Linked DNA regions of Homo sapiens: regions 2, 3 and 4 are each linked to region 1. Evidence: promoter capture Hi-C in human tissues and cell types (Jung and others, 2019). All regions are on one chromosome and are shown on one strand. The core of a region is centred on a gene start or on the middle of the fragment in contact, and the rest is flanking DNA. Distances in the headings are between cores, read along the strand shown.

Evidence for each region. Contacts are between HindIII fragments. The study calls those that stand out against the background at their distance.
Region 2: a contact is called between the fragment with the promoter of GSTM1 here and the fragment with the promoter of AHCYL1 in region 1, in 1 of the 25 tissues and cell types used here (mesenchymal stem cells).
Region 3: a fragment that was not itself captured here is called in contact with the fragment with the promoter of AHCYL1 in region 1 in 1 of the 25 tissues and cell types used here (heart right ventricle).
Region 4: a contact is called between a fragment that was not itself captured here and the fragment with the promoter of AHCYL1 in region 1, in 1 of the 25 tissues and cell types used here (lymphoblastoid cells).

What each region holds. Positions count from the first base shown.
Region 1 is chr1:109,983,014-109,986,212 of GRCh38, forward strand. It overlaps AHCYL1 (adenosylhomocysteinase like 1), which reads left to right and starts at 1,752. Exons shown (of 17, transcript NM_006621.7): 1 at 1,752-2,159. The coding sequence starts at 2,040. RefSeq lists silencers at 1,978-2,047, 2,228-2,297. The HindIII fragment of the contact is 16,487 bases long and covers 1-3,199 here.
Region 2 is chr1:109,686,254-109,689,452 of GRCh38, forward strand. It overlaps GSTM1 (glutathione S-transferase mu 1), which reads left to right and starts at 1,564. Exons shown (of 8, transcript NM_000561.4): 1 at 1,564-1,656; 2 at 1,917-1,992; 3 at 2,420-2,484; 4 at 2,795-2,876; 5 at 2,972-3,072. The coding sequence starts at 1,621. RefSeq lists an enhancer at 1,614-1,663. The HindIII fragment of the contact is 14,943 bases long and covers 1-3,199 here.
Region 3 is chr1:109,703,070-109,706,268 of GRCh38, forward strand. No RefSeq gene overlaps it. Among named protein-coding and RNA genes, the nearest start is that of GSTM5, 7.6 kb to the right of the region's middle. The HindIII fragment of the contact is 8,634 bases long and covers 1-3,199 here.
Region 4 is chr1:109,722,631-109,725,829 of GRCh38, forward strand. No RefSeq gene overlaps it. Among named protein-coding and RNA genes, the nearest start is that of GSTM5, 12 kb to the left of the region's middle. The HindIII fragment of the contact is 5,225 bases long and covers 1-3,199 here.

The sequences.
Region 1 (3,199 bases), core at 502-3,001:
TCCTTCTTGAAAGGGTATGCCCTGTTAAAAACCTGGGAGGTTTCTGGATGTTAAAAGGTGGTCCTGGCCAGGCGCGGTGGCTCACGCCTGTAATCCCAGCACTTTGGGAGGCCGAGGCAGGTGGATCACGAGGTCAGGATCCGAGACCAGCCTGGCCAAGATGGTGAAACCCCGTCTCTACTAAAAATACAAAAATTAGCCGGGCACGGTGGCGCACGCCTATAGTCCCAGCTACTCACTCAGGAGGCTGAGGCAGGAGAATCACTTGAACCCGGCAGGCGGAGGTTGCAGTGAGCTGAGAGCACTCCAGCTTGGGCAACAGAGCGAGACGTCATCTCAAAAAAAAAAAAAAGGTGGTCCTGGGGAGGAATTTAGGGAAAGGGCACTGGGAAGACTGGAATTGCTCAGCACAGCAGAGGAGAATCTGGCTTCCCAGAGTCTATCAAGGAAGGAAGGATGAGGTGCAGAGATGGGAAGGGAGGAACAGGAGGAAGCTAGATTAGATGGCAATGGGCTAGGGAGCGTGGTGGGATCTTGTGGCCATTGAGAAATCCCCGGGTGGTAAGACAGCCAAAATAACTTTTCAGAACATTTCAGAAATGTGTTCTTAAATTGTTTGCTGTGTGATGTAATCTCTCCCCTGTGACCCACAAACCTTTATTAAAAGTTTTACTACATGTTACAGCCTTATTTTGTAGTTGTTTAGCATGGGGTGGGGGTTGAAAGGAGAAGCGGCTGAATTGACCCCAGGAGCTACAGAAACAGTCACAAGACCAGAATAGTGAATAAAATGCCAGACAAGGCAAAAAAACTAGAGCCAGAGGTGACCATGAAAATCCAAGTCCTCCCAGTAATGGACTTTCCACAGGACATGGTAATTGGAGCCAATGTCATTTGAATCTCAAAGGACAAGCTACCTCAGCTGACATTAGGATACAAGCAGGTTTTGCCTCTCCAGCTGAACTAAGCCTTGCAAAACATAAAATGCGTCACATGTCCTTTTGCCAGCAGGGCCTCAGCACAGGCACTGCACATAGTAGGCCCAGTAAAAGGGTGTGAGCAGTCCATGAATGTCCTGGATGCCCACTGAGAGCTGGAAGGGTCTAATGCTTTGGTGGAGCAAGGACCGGAAGGCCATTCTGGCTGGGGACTTCTCCATCAGCTCTCCTGGTCTCCACCCTCATACCCATCAGCCCTATCCCAATGAGGGTTTTGTAAACAGGCAAGGCCCAGTCGGAGATGGTGGTGGAGGAAGTCACAAAGCGTTGTGCAGAAACCAGACTACTCTGAGTCAGTTCTGCCCCCTATGAAGTCAAAAAGACAGGCACGGCCCCTTGGGAAGGAGCTTTAATCCAAAGGGCCTGGGGCTGGGCCAGTGAGTGAGTGGGCTGTCTCGAGCCCCGGACATTTCCTAGGAATCGCTGTAGGATGTGTCGTGTGGGGCTCTGGTCTTTGCTCCCAAACACCCCTTTCATGCGCCTCTGAGGCCTTGCCAGGAACCCCGCAGCCCAAAGACCCTCCGTTCCGCAGCATCGTTGCATGAACCTCGCGCTGCTCCCAGGGCTGATGGTGCCACCTGGTGGCACAAAGGGTCCTGCTCACCCTGGGAACTTCGCTCTCGAGCGGGAGAGGAACGGCTTCTGTGGCCCAGCCCAGCGTGGTGACGTCACGACAGAGTGCCCTTTCTCCCCGCCTCTTCCCCCTCCCGGGAGCTGCCAGTACTTGACGTGGCGTCACCGCCCTCTACCCTCGCTTTGCGTGCGTGTTTGCGTACAGCGGAGGTGGCGGCGCGGGCAGGTCGGAGCTCGGAGCTGCTGTTCTGGTTCTCTTGTGGCCGCCGTCGCTGTCCGGCTGCCTTGGGCTGCCGAACAGACAAGGCGTGGGCCACAGCACCTCAGAAGCCGACGCAGCTCGACGCAGGGGCCGGCAGGAGGGTGGGCGATCGCGTGTCGGAGGGCGCCGCGCGGGCAGGCGGGCGGGCGCCAGAGGGGGAAAGAGGCGGGGGCGGCGGGTCAGCCGCTGGCCGGGCCGGCCGGGGAATGTCGATGCCTGACGCGATGCCGCTGCCCGGGGTCGGGGAGGAGCTGAAGCAGGCCAAGGAGATCGAGGACGCCGAGAAGTACTCCTTCATGGCCACCGTCACCAAGGCGCCCAAGAAGGTGCGGGGGCTCTGGGTGGCGGCGGGGGCTCGGGCTCCGGCCTCGCGGAAGGGACGCGAGCAAGCCCGGGCTCTGGCTAGTTTGGGACTTCTGGGGGTGACTGGGGACGGCGGAGGTGATGTAGGGGGTGGCGGCTGTGCGGCCCCAGGCCTCTCCCGGGCTGAAAGGCCGCCTCTGACCTCGCTTTCCTTTGTCCCTCGGCCCAAGTCCTCCGGGATCGTTTTGAAACCCGACAGGGCCAGGCCTTAAATTTGCGACTGACTTTTCCTGGATGAAGGGCCTCGAAGACGAGAGTGGGAGGGGGTGAACCAACTCAGCTGACCCTTGTGACCAGTCCGGGGGCATGGGGTGTACAGAAAATCTCCCTTCAGGTGAGTGGGTAAATCTGGCAGAACTTCCATCAAATCTTTGGGAGCAGTGGCCGCTTTATCCAACAACTGCGTGATAGCTGGGAGGCAAGAGAAAAGAATGCGTGAAGCTAGCTCTGATATACAGGTGAAAGCGATGAGGGTAACATGAAACTGAAAATCTATGATTTTCACTTTCTACAGCATTCCAATTACTTCGAAATATGTAAGAAATTGACATTTGGAGGTTGGTGACAGCAGACACTGTCATGGATACAGGTGGATCCTAGAGTCATGTGAATAGATCACTTAGGCATCCCTGGAGAAAGGAGCTTGGGTGGGTTGGAGTAGTGGGTGGTAAGGGAAGATTGCTCACTCTTGACTGTACTTTTGAGGCAGAACAAGTTTGATCTATTGTGCTGTAGGTTGACTCAAAGGACACCCTTCGAATTCTCTCATAAATGGCAACCTTTGGAGATTTTAGTCTGACTAGCTCTCCGAGTGGTGGAATTGGGATCCTTATTGCTTTCTCATCATTTACTGCCAACCACATCTTGATTTTCCATACACCTGGCACCCAGTTAGCAGTAGACCAGAGAACCTTTACAAAGAGGTGACCTTCCTGAAGCCAGTGAGAACCCAGATAAATGTCTCCCTTCTTTATAAAGACAGAGTCTTACAAAGCTGTCTCTG
Region 2 (3,199 bases), core at 314-2,813, 300 kb before region 1:
TCTGACCTCCCTCCTCAGCAGGACAGGGTTCTGGCTTCTCTGAGGGACAGGTTCTGTGGCAGGCCAGGCGTCACTAACACAGGCCTCCATAACAACTGTTTCAGTACTGACTGAGTGGTGAAGTTAAATATTAAAAGCTGAAAAAAGCCAGTACCTTTATACAGAGGCTGGATGTAACAAAAGCCCACCAAGAGTTTTGCTTAGGCCTTTCCTGGGCCTTAAAGCATGACAAAACAATGAAGGAATTCTTAACAGGACCTATTTAGAATTAAACAAGTTTTATTGTGAGTCTGAAGAAACTCCCCAGGCCTCCACAAACAAGTTTATTGGGCGTCTGAAGGAACTCCCCAAACCTCCGTGATTTAGCAGGAGACAAGATAAGGGTAATCATCCCCCGCACCTGGACCCATTTAGATTAAATAAATAGACTGAGGCTCCAGAATAAGGTCCTCAGGACCCAGACCTCAGTTACAGATTAAAGAAGTTAATCACTTATGTCTTTAGATGAATGCACACTTACTTGTAGACATATACCTTAGAAGGTATATATGCTCTGGAAAACTTTGTAATATTGAGTTGGTCTGGTGGTAATTTCTAGGCCTTCTCCCTGTTACCGGTTGCAGAAATAAAACCTCTCTTCCTCCCCATTTGATCTGCATCTCGTTATTGGGCCTAGAGAAATAGCAGCCGGACCCTCAGTTTGGTCCGGGAAGTTCTTCCATCCTCCCTCGCCTGCTCTCTGTGGCCACTGCACTCACTGTTGCTGTTGCTGTTCCGGTCTCTGTGAGGTTCACCTAGTGGACTGGCTGGACATTTCTAGGGGGCACCTCAGATACCTCACCAACTTGCTGGATCTGATCCTTGGATTTCGATTCATAAATTGTGCCAAAATACGAAGTGGCTAATTTACACAGTACTTAGCCAGATGACCGAAGGACTCAGTACCCGAGGGCCCCTAACAGAAAACACAGACCACATTTCCTTTACTCTGGCCCTTTTCCTGGGGGTCCTTCCTATACCACTGACACTGTTCCTGTGTAGGCGGGGCTAGAGGGGAGACTAAGCCCTGGGAGTAGCTTTCGGATCAGAGGAAGTCCTGCTCTTACAGTGACAGGGGCTGAATTAAATTCCCAGGTTGGGGCCACCACTTTTTAGTCTGACCCCTGCAGCCGGAGTCTCCCAGAGCCCTTGGGAACTCGGCAGCGGAGAGAAGGCTGAGGGACACCGCGGGCAGGGAGGAGAAGGGAGAAGAGCTTTGCTCCGTTAGGATCTGGCTGGTGTCTCAAGCGCACAGCCAAGTCGCTGTGGACCTAGCAAGGGCTGGATGGACTCGTGGAGCCTCAGGGCTGGGTAGGGAAGCTGGCGAGGCCGAGCCCCGCCTTGGGCTTCTGGGCGCCCTGACTTCGCTCCCGGAACCCTCGGGCCTGGGAGGCGGGAGGAAGTCTTACTGAGTGCAGCCCCAGGCGCCCTCTCCCGGGCCTCCAGAATGGCGCCTTTCGGGTTGTGGCGGGCCGAGGGGCGGGGTCGCAGCAAGGCCCCGCCTGTCCCCTCTCCGGAGCTCTTATACTCTGAGCCCTGCTCGGTTTAGGCCTGTCTGCGGAATCCGCACCAACCAGCACCATGCCCATGATACTGGGGTACTGGGACATCCGCGGGGTGAGCGAGGGTCCGCTGGACGGTGGGACGAGGGCGCAGGGGAGGGAAGTGCGAAGCAGCTGCGGGACGGACTCTAGGGACCGTTCCTCTTCAGGGCTGCCCGCCTCAGAAGGGCCTGTGCATGCCGCTGTGTGTGTGTTGGGGGTGTGGGCGGGTAGAGGAGGCAACGGGTACGTGCAGTGTAAACTGGGGGCTTCCCTGGTGCAGACAAAGTCAGGGACCCTCCATCTCTGACGCGACCTGCGGGCCATCTCTCCCAGCTGGCCCACGCCATCCGCCTGCTCCTGGAATACACAGACTCAAGCTATGAGGAAAAGAAGTACACGATGGGGGACGGTAATGGCACCCTCGTGTTCGGGCTCTGCCCACTCACGCTAAGTTGGCACCAAGCAACCCATGGTGGCCACCTGTGGCTGCCTCTGCAGGCCTCCCCTGCTGGAGCTGCAGGCTGTCTCTTCCCTGAGCCCCGGTGAGGGAGCCCTCTGGCCTTGCAAGGCAGAATGCTGGGGTGGGATGCTGGGCCCCCTGTCTAATTGGGACGGGTGTCCCTCAGGGCTTGCCTAAACCCTGGAAGCCTTAGCTGTGTGGGGTCCAGAGCCCTCAGCGGGATTCTTTGTCCCTGAACCCTGGGATGTGGGACTGAGTGGTCAGATTCTAGATCCACCTGTCTCAGGGATCTTGCCACTGGCTCCGTGGGAGGGTCCCCGGGAAGGAGGGCTGGGCTCTGGGGAGGTTTGTTTTCACTTCTTCTTCCCCACCACAGCTCCTGATTATGACAGAAGCCAGTGGCTGAATGAAAAATTCAAGCTGGGCCTGGACTTTCCCAATGTAGGTGCAGGGGAAGGGGCGGTTTTGGGGGAAAGTGCAACGTGTCTCTGACTGCATCTCCTCTCCCCAGCTTAGAGGTGTTAAGATCAGGAGTCTTCTGCCCAATTCCTCTCACTCCTGGCTGTCTAAACAGTCCTTCCATGATGTTCTGTGTCCACCTGCATTCGTTCATGTGACAGTATTCTTATTTCAGTCCTGCCATGAGCAGGCACAGTGAGTGCCCGGTCTCCTCTCTGCTCTTGCTTATGGGAAGGGGATGCTGGGGAGCCTGGTGGCCCAACTGAGCTTCGCCGGTTTCCCATCCATCCAGCTGCCCTACTTGATTGATGGGGCTCACAAGATCACCCAGAGCAACGCCATCTTGTGCTACATTGCCCGCAAGCACAACCTGTGTGAGTGTGGGTGGCTGCAATGTGTGGGGGGAAGGTGGCCTCCTCCTTGGCTGGGCTGTGATGCTGAGATTGAGTCTGTGTTTTGTGGGTGGCAGGTGGGGAGACAGAAGAGGAGAAGATTCGTGTGGACATTTTGGAGAACCAGACCATGGACAACCATATGCAGCTGGGCATGATCTGCTACAATCCAGAATTTGTGAGTGTCCCCAGTGAGCTGCATCTGACAGAGTTTGGATTTGGGGCCAGGACTCTTGCATTCCTGCACACACTGGTCTTAAGTCCCTGGTACCATTCATCCTCCAAGTGCTTTCCCATACTATCAG
Region 3 (3,199 bases), core at 286-2,785, 280 kb before region 1:
ATACTCTGGGAAAGGAAAGCATTCCTGGGGGGAGGTCTATAAATGGTCGCTTTGGGAATGAATGTCTGTCCTATGCAGTTGAGATAAGGACTGAAATACACCCTGGTCTCCTGCAGTACCCTCAGGCTTACTAGGGTGGGGAAAAACCTGGCCCTGGCAAATTTGTGGTCAGACTGGTTCTCTGCTCTTGAACCCTGTGTTCTGTTGTTTAAGATGTTTATCAAGACAATACATGCACCGCTGAACATAGACCCTTATCAGGAGTTCTATTTTGCCCTTGTCCTGTTTCCTCAGAAGCATGTGATCTTTGTTCTGCTTTTTGCCCTTTAAAGCATGTGATCTTCGTACCTACCCCCTGTTCGTACACCCCCTCCCCTTTTGCAATCCTTAATAAAAACTTGCTGGTTTTGAGGCTCGGGCGGGCATTACGGTCCCACTGATATGTGATGTCACCTCCAGCAGCCCAGCTGTAAAATTCCTCTCTTTGTACTCTTTCTCTTTATTTCTCAGCCAGCCGACACTTATGGAAAGTAGAAAGAACCTACATTGAAATACTGGGGGCAGGTTCCCCCAATATCTGGTGCACCAACATGGTTTTCTTTTTCCTAAGTGCATGTGGGAACCTGATTCCCTTTGGTAGGTGTGGAGAAACGATCATCAGTCCAGTCCTCAGAAACGCTTGTTCGGCTCCCTGATGATTGGTGAATTTTCTATGTATTGTCTCGGGTAACTATGGGTCACATGGAGTCTAAATATTATGCTTATCTCTGCTATATTAAACTCCTGTTAAAACAGGGTGGAGTTTGGGTGCCCATGGAAAATATGGTCACCCTATTCAGGGTGTTGGAAGAACACTGTCCTTGGTTTCCTGAAAAGGGAAAATTAGATGTGGAACTATGGGATCGCGTTGGTGCAAAATTCCAGGAACTGATCCCATCAGGAAATTATGTTCCCTTCACTGTTTGGGGTGATTGGGCCTTGGTATGTGCCATCCTAACGACATACCAATCCCGTGACCCCCTGCAGTTACCACAGTTTTCTGAATCTGGCGACCTTCTACCTCTTCCACAGCTTTCCTCTCCCACTCGGGCTTCATTATCTGCTCAGCCTCTCCCTTCGCCTACTCCTCCCCCACCTAACGATATTGAGGATTCAATATCTAACTCCGGTGACTTTGGCTTAATGTCACCCCCGATGGTCTTATTTCTTTTCATGAAGACCTGATACTTGTAGCTCCCATGGCCCTGACTCGGACAGCTCTGCACCATATCTATGCTAACTCTTCCCTTTTCAAATCTTTGCAGGCTTTGCCTCCAGAGCCATCTAATGGCTCCAGACCAAACTACAATTTACCTGTAATTCTGCAGGCCCTCCCCCACCGCAGCCCCTCACCCTCCTGTCATTTCGGTCCCTCAACCAGTCACTTTGCCATTCACTCAACCTGCTTCTCTGTACCCTTCTTCACACATGGACGCCCCTGCCACTCTGGTTGCACAGGATTTCCCAATAATCACCAGTATGCTTCTGTCTCTTCTGCTCCCCCAATGCCCCTTTCTCACACTCTCATACTGGTCTGACCTCCTGAACCTCAGTTTCCCTTATCTACACATACTTTTACTGTCACTTCTATGCCAACTCCATCTCATGTGCCTGCTCTTGAAACTTCCATGCAATGCTTATTACGCCAGAACAAAGAAACAAGTGGATTAGAGGTGTGGGCTTATCCGGTCACGCTGGAACCTCCCAATGCTCAAGGGGTACAAATGCGTTGATATGCACTGCTCAATCTTACCTTTTCAAAAGAATTCAAGGATGCTTGTGCTCAGTATGGTCCTGCTTCTCCATATGTTAAAATGGCATTACAGACTCTTTGTACTGAGGTCATTTTGCTTCCTTCAGAATGGGACCTTTTGGCGAAAGCTGTTCTAACTCCATCTCAGCATTTACAATTCTGTACCTGGTGGTCAGAGGAGGCCCGTCTGCAGGCTCAGCTAAATTGGGTTGATGGCATTCTAATTACTCAGGCTCAGCTCACAGGCTCTGATAATCACTCTGACACTACCGCCCAATTAGACTTTGACGCTCTCACCACGGAACAAGTAACAAAGTTGTGTATGAGAGTTTGGGATAAACTAGGTGCCCCAGGCCAAGCTCCTGTTTCTTTTACTACTGTTAAACAGGGTCGCAGTGAATTACATCCTGATTTTTTGGCTAAATTACAAGATGCTGTTCAAAATCTGTCTCTGATGATTACGCTCAAGGTATTCTCCTTCATATGTTAGCTTTTGAGAATGCGAACCATGAGTGTAAAGTGGTCATGCGTTCTGTCTAATGACAAAATTTACCTGATCACGAGGTGTGCCTGCATATATTAAAGCTTGTGAAAGCATTGGATCAGAGACCCACAAAGCTATTCTGTGGGCACGGGCCATGAAGGATGGCAATCAAACTGGCTTGACTGAATTCTTTTCTTGGAGCCTGCTATAATTGTGGTCAACTTCATCATACCCAAAAAAATTGCACTGTTAAAAGCGGCCAAGCCAGCTCAACAAACATGGCCAAATGCTCCTGCTACTGTTTGCCCTCATTGTCGTAAAGGTAAACACTGGGCAAGTACTTGCCACTCTAAGTCTGATATAGATGGCAATCCCTTGCCACAGAACCAGGGAAATGGGAAGCAGGGCCAGTCCCAGGCCCCAGTATCAAATGGGACACCTCAGACTCAGACCAATATTGTGTTTCTGCTTCAAGCGGTCCCAATACAGCCCCCAGCACAAGCAAATTTACCTACAGCCAACCCAGATGGGTCCCAGTCGCTTCTTCTGTCTCAGTACAATGCTTGTCTACCTCCACAGTAGGGGGCAGGGCGGTCAATCTCTGTAGTACCACTCCTCTAAATTTACTACCGAATTCTTTGCCTTTAATTGTCCCCACGGGGGCCACTGGCCCTTTACCTCAAGGTTTGGTGGGCCTGGTGTTAGGTAGGGCATCCACCTCTGCTAAAGGTATCATAGTTCATACTGGTCTCATTAATTCTGATTCCTCTGATGAGATTAAAATAATCGTGTCTGCCAAGGTTCCTGTTTCCATTCCGGCCAGTGAGTCAATTGCTCAACTACTTTTACTACCTAATATTGTTTTAAACAAAGGAGATAAGACAGGGGGCCCTGGGATGGGCTCTGGCGGTGAAAAAGCCGCT
Region 4 (3,199 bases), core at 265-2,764, 260 kb before region 1:
ATTTCCTGCATCCACTTCCAAGTTTGGAATCTGTGGGTAATGTTCATATTGATATTTTGAAAACGAGAGACTAAAGTGTAAAGTTAATAACCCCCAATTTGGGCAGGGTGTGGTGGTACAGGCCTGCAGTCCTAACTATCCTAGAGGTTAAGGTGGGAGGATCGCTTGAGGACAGAAGTTTGCAGTGAGCTATGATTGCACCTGTGTATAATCAGTGCACTCTAGCCTGGGCAACATAGTGAGACCTCATCTCTGAAAAAAAAAAATAATAATAAAGGACGAAAGAAAGAGTAAAAACAAACCCCAATTCACCCTCTATAAAATAACAAATGAAATGGGAAGTGGAAAAAAGGGAAAAATTAGGTAAGCCTATATGATACAGTAGAAAACAGGCTGCACTCAGATTTGCAAATAAGCTGTTTTGCATTTATTTACAATGCTTATAGAATGCACTTCTTTGGTGAAGGGACTCTGAAGAGATATTGCGTAATAAGACTTATATACTAAGCATTGATATGAACAACCCAAAGTCACTCCTTGGATTGGCTCTTGTCTCCATCCCTCTGTGACCCCACTCAGGTTTACTGTCATCCCACTTTGTTACCCTACATTTTTTAGGCTCATGTGGCTTGTGTGGAATGGTGAGGGAAACTCTTACTGATGACAGAGACACAGAGACAGACTGGCCACTACCACATGGTAACCTGAGACTTGGAAGCAGTGAGCGAGAGTGGTCCATTCTGATGGGTTCCGGACCAACTCTCTCTGCAAATGTTAATTGTCATACTCCTTGTAAACAGATCTGGTTTTCCACAGAGGACTCCGCCTTTTGGAATAGCCCCAACAAATCCTCTCAAAGCATATTCTGTCCAAAAGGCCCAACAGACACCCTACATTCCCTGCATACCTTTAGTTCTCTTCCAGTTGAAACATAATTTTTTTTTTTTTTTTTAGACAAGGTCTTGCTCTGTCGCCCAAGCTGGAGTGCAGTAGTGCAATCATGGCTCACTGCAGCCTTGACTTCCTTGGGCTCAGGTGATCCTTCCACGTCAGCCTCCTGGGTTGCTGGGACTACAGGCACATGCCACCATGCCTGGCTAATTTTTTTTCCTGTATTTTGTAGAGATGGGGTTTTGCCATGTTGCCCAGGCTGGTCTTGAACTCCTGGGCTCAAGTGATTTGCCTGCCTCTGCCTCCCTCCACCTCCCAAAATGCTGGGATTACATGCATAAGCCACTGCGTGCGGCCTGAAACATAATTTTGGAAAGAAGCAGATAGGGTCTTGGTCACAGTTCAAAAAGAGTATCTGTTAATATAATTGAAAGTGTTGTACTACAGAAGATAAAGTACAGGCCTATTTAATAATTCTAATTTTCCTTCAAACTTCCAATACAACATGAACATTATTAGCTGGTGTGTTCTATTCCTATTATTTTGCATCATGGAAAACATCTCCTGCGAACACTAGGTTGGCCCGCTGTCTCCAAGTCAGGCCACACAGAAGCACCTATTCATTTAAAATTCAAATATACCCACACCCATTTAATCTTTTCTTCCAGATTTAAGTCTCACGTGTCAGTTATCTGTAATTATTTCCATTGTAAACCCCATAAGAACATTAAGAGCCAATCCCTGTTAGTTTTCAGAAATGTTTCATTTCAATTTGGCCTAAGCAAGGAAGAAATAAGCCAGACCATGAACTTGTAAACCCAGAAAATCTGGGAGAGGTCCAAGTTAAATCAGAAAGTTTATTTTGCCAAGGTGGAGGATGTGGCCATGACACGGTCTCAGAAAGTCCTTGACAACATGTCCCCAAGATGGTCGGGGCACAGCTTGGTTTGTAAATATATATAAAAGCTATGGCTTATCAATATATGTAAAAAGCACATTGGTTCCATCCAGAAAGGCTGGACAACTCGAAGCAGGTGGGTGCTTCAAGTTGTCCCACCTTTCCAGACCAAACCAATGTAGTTCTTTATACATATTAATTGATGTTTCATGTCTGTCTAAAATGTATAAAATCAAGCTGTGCCCTGAACACCTGCGGCACATGTTGTCAGGACATCCTGAGGCTGTGCCACCGGTATTCATCCTCAACCTTGGCAAAACAAACTTTCTAAATTAACTGAGACCTGGCTGGGCACGGTGGCTCACGCCTGTAATCCCAGCACTTTGAAAGGCTGAGGCAGGCGGATCACCCGAGATGAGGAGTCCAAGACTAGCCTGGCCAACATGGCGAAACCTCGTCTCTACTAAAAATACAAAACTTAGCTGGGCATGGTGGCAGATGCCTGTAATCCCAGCTACTTGCTTGGTAGGCCGAGGCAGGAGAATCGCTTGAACCTGGGAGGTGGAGATTACAGTGAGCGGAGATTGTGCCATTGCACTCCAGTCTGGGCGACAGAGCAAAACTCCCTCTAAAAATGAAAGAAAGGAAGGGAAGGGAAGGGAAGGGAAGGGAGGGGAAGGGAAGGGAAGGGAAGGGAAGGGGAAAGAAAGGAAGAAAGAAAGAAAGAAAGACAGACCTGTCTCGGATTTTCTGGAACTTGTCTCACATTTTCTGGGTTCACAGGAGGAATCTCAGATAAGACTGTTTTAAAGCTGAGCTCAGCCATGGATTTGTGCCATTAAATACCTATGAGTTGGGTGATCCTCTCCCCTTGAGGTTCCAAAGTAAACTTGGGGCTCCTGGGCCTGTCAGAAAGTGACATTCTTTACCTACCACAGGTGGACAAAACTATGAGTCCAGTTTCCCAAGTGGCTTTATTGGCTCCATAAATCAAGTTTGATTCCTTAAAGGAAAGCATACCATTCAAGTTAAAGCTTTGGTAAAATAACCAGTTTCTCCAACTGTGTCCTGTTACAAATGAAAACAGATTATTATTGTGTTGGGAACCGAAAGCCTGAGGGTTGTGACCCACTCAGCATTCCACTGAAGGCTATATGATCAAACAGCAAACTGTTTATCATGAATACAGAATGTGAGCAAACTTGCATCTGTGCCTGCCGCCAGAAGGTATGCTGAGAGTAATCACTCCCTGGTGCCGTGCTCCTTGAGGTTATCTACTGGGACATCTGGAGCCTACTGTTCAAATAATGCAGTCATGCAGACCTGCACTAAGTCAAGCAGCTGACCACAACCATCCCCTTCTCCCTATCTCCTTTACTCAATAAATATGAAGGACTCTAAAAGCTCAGG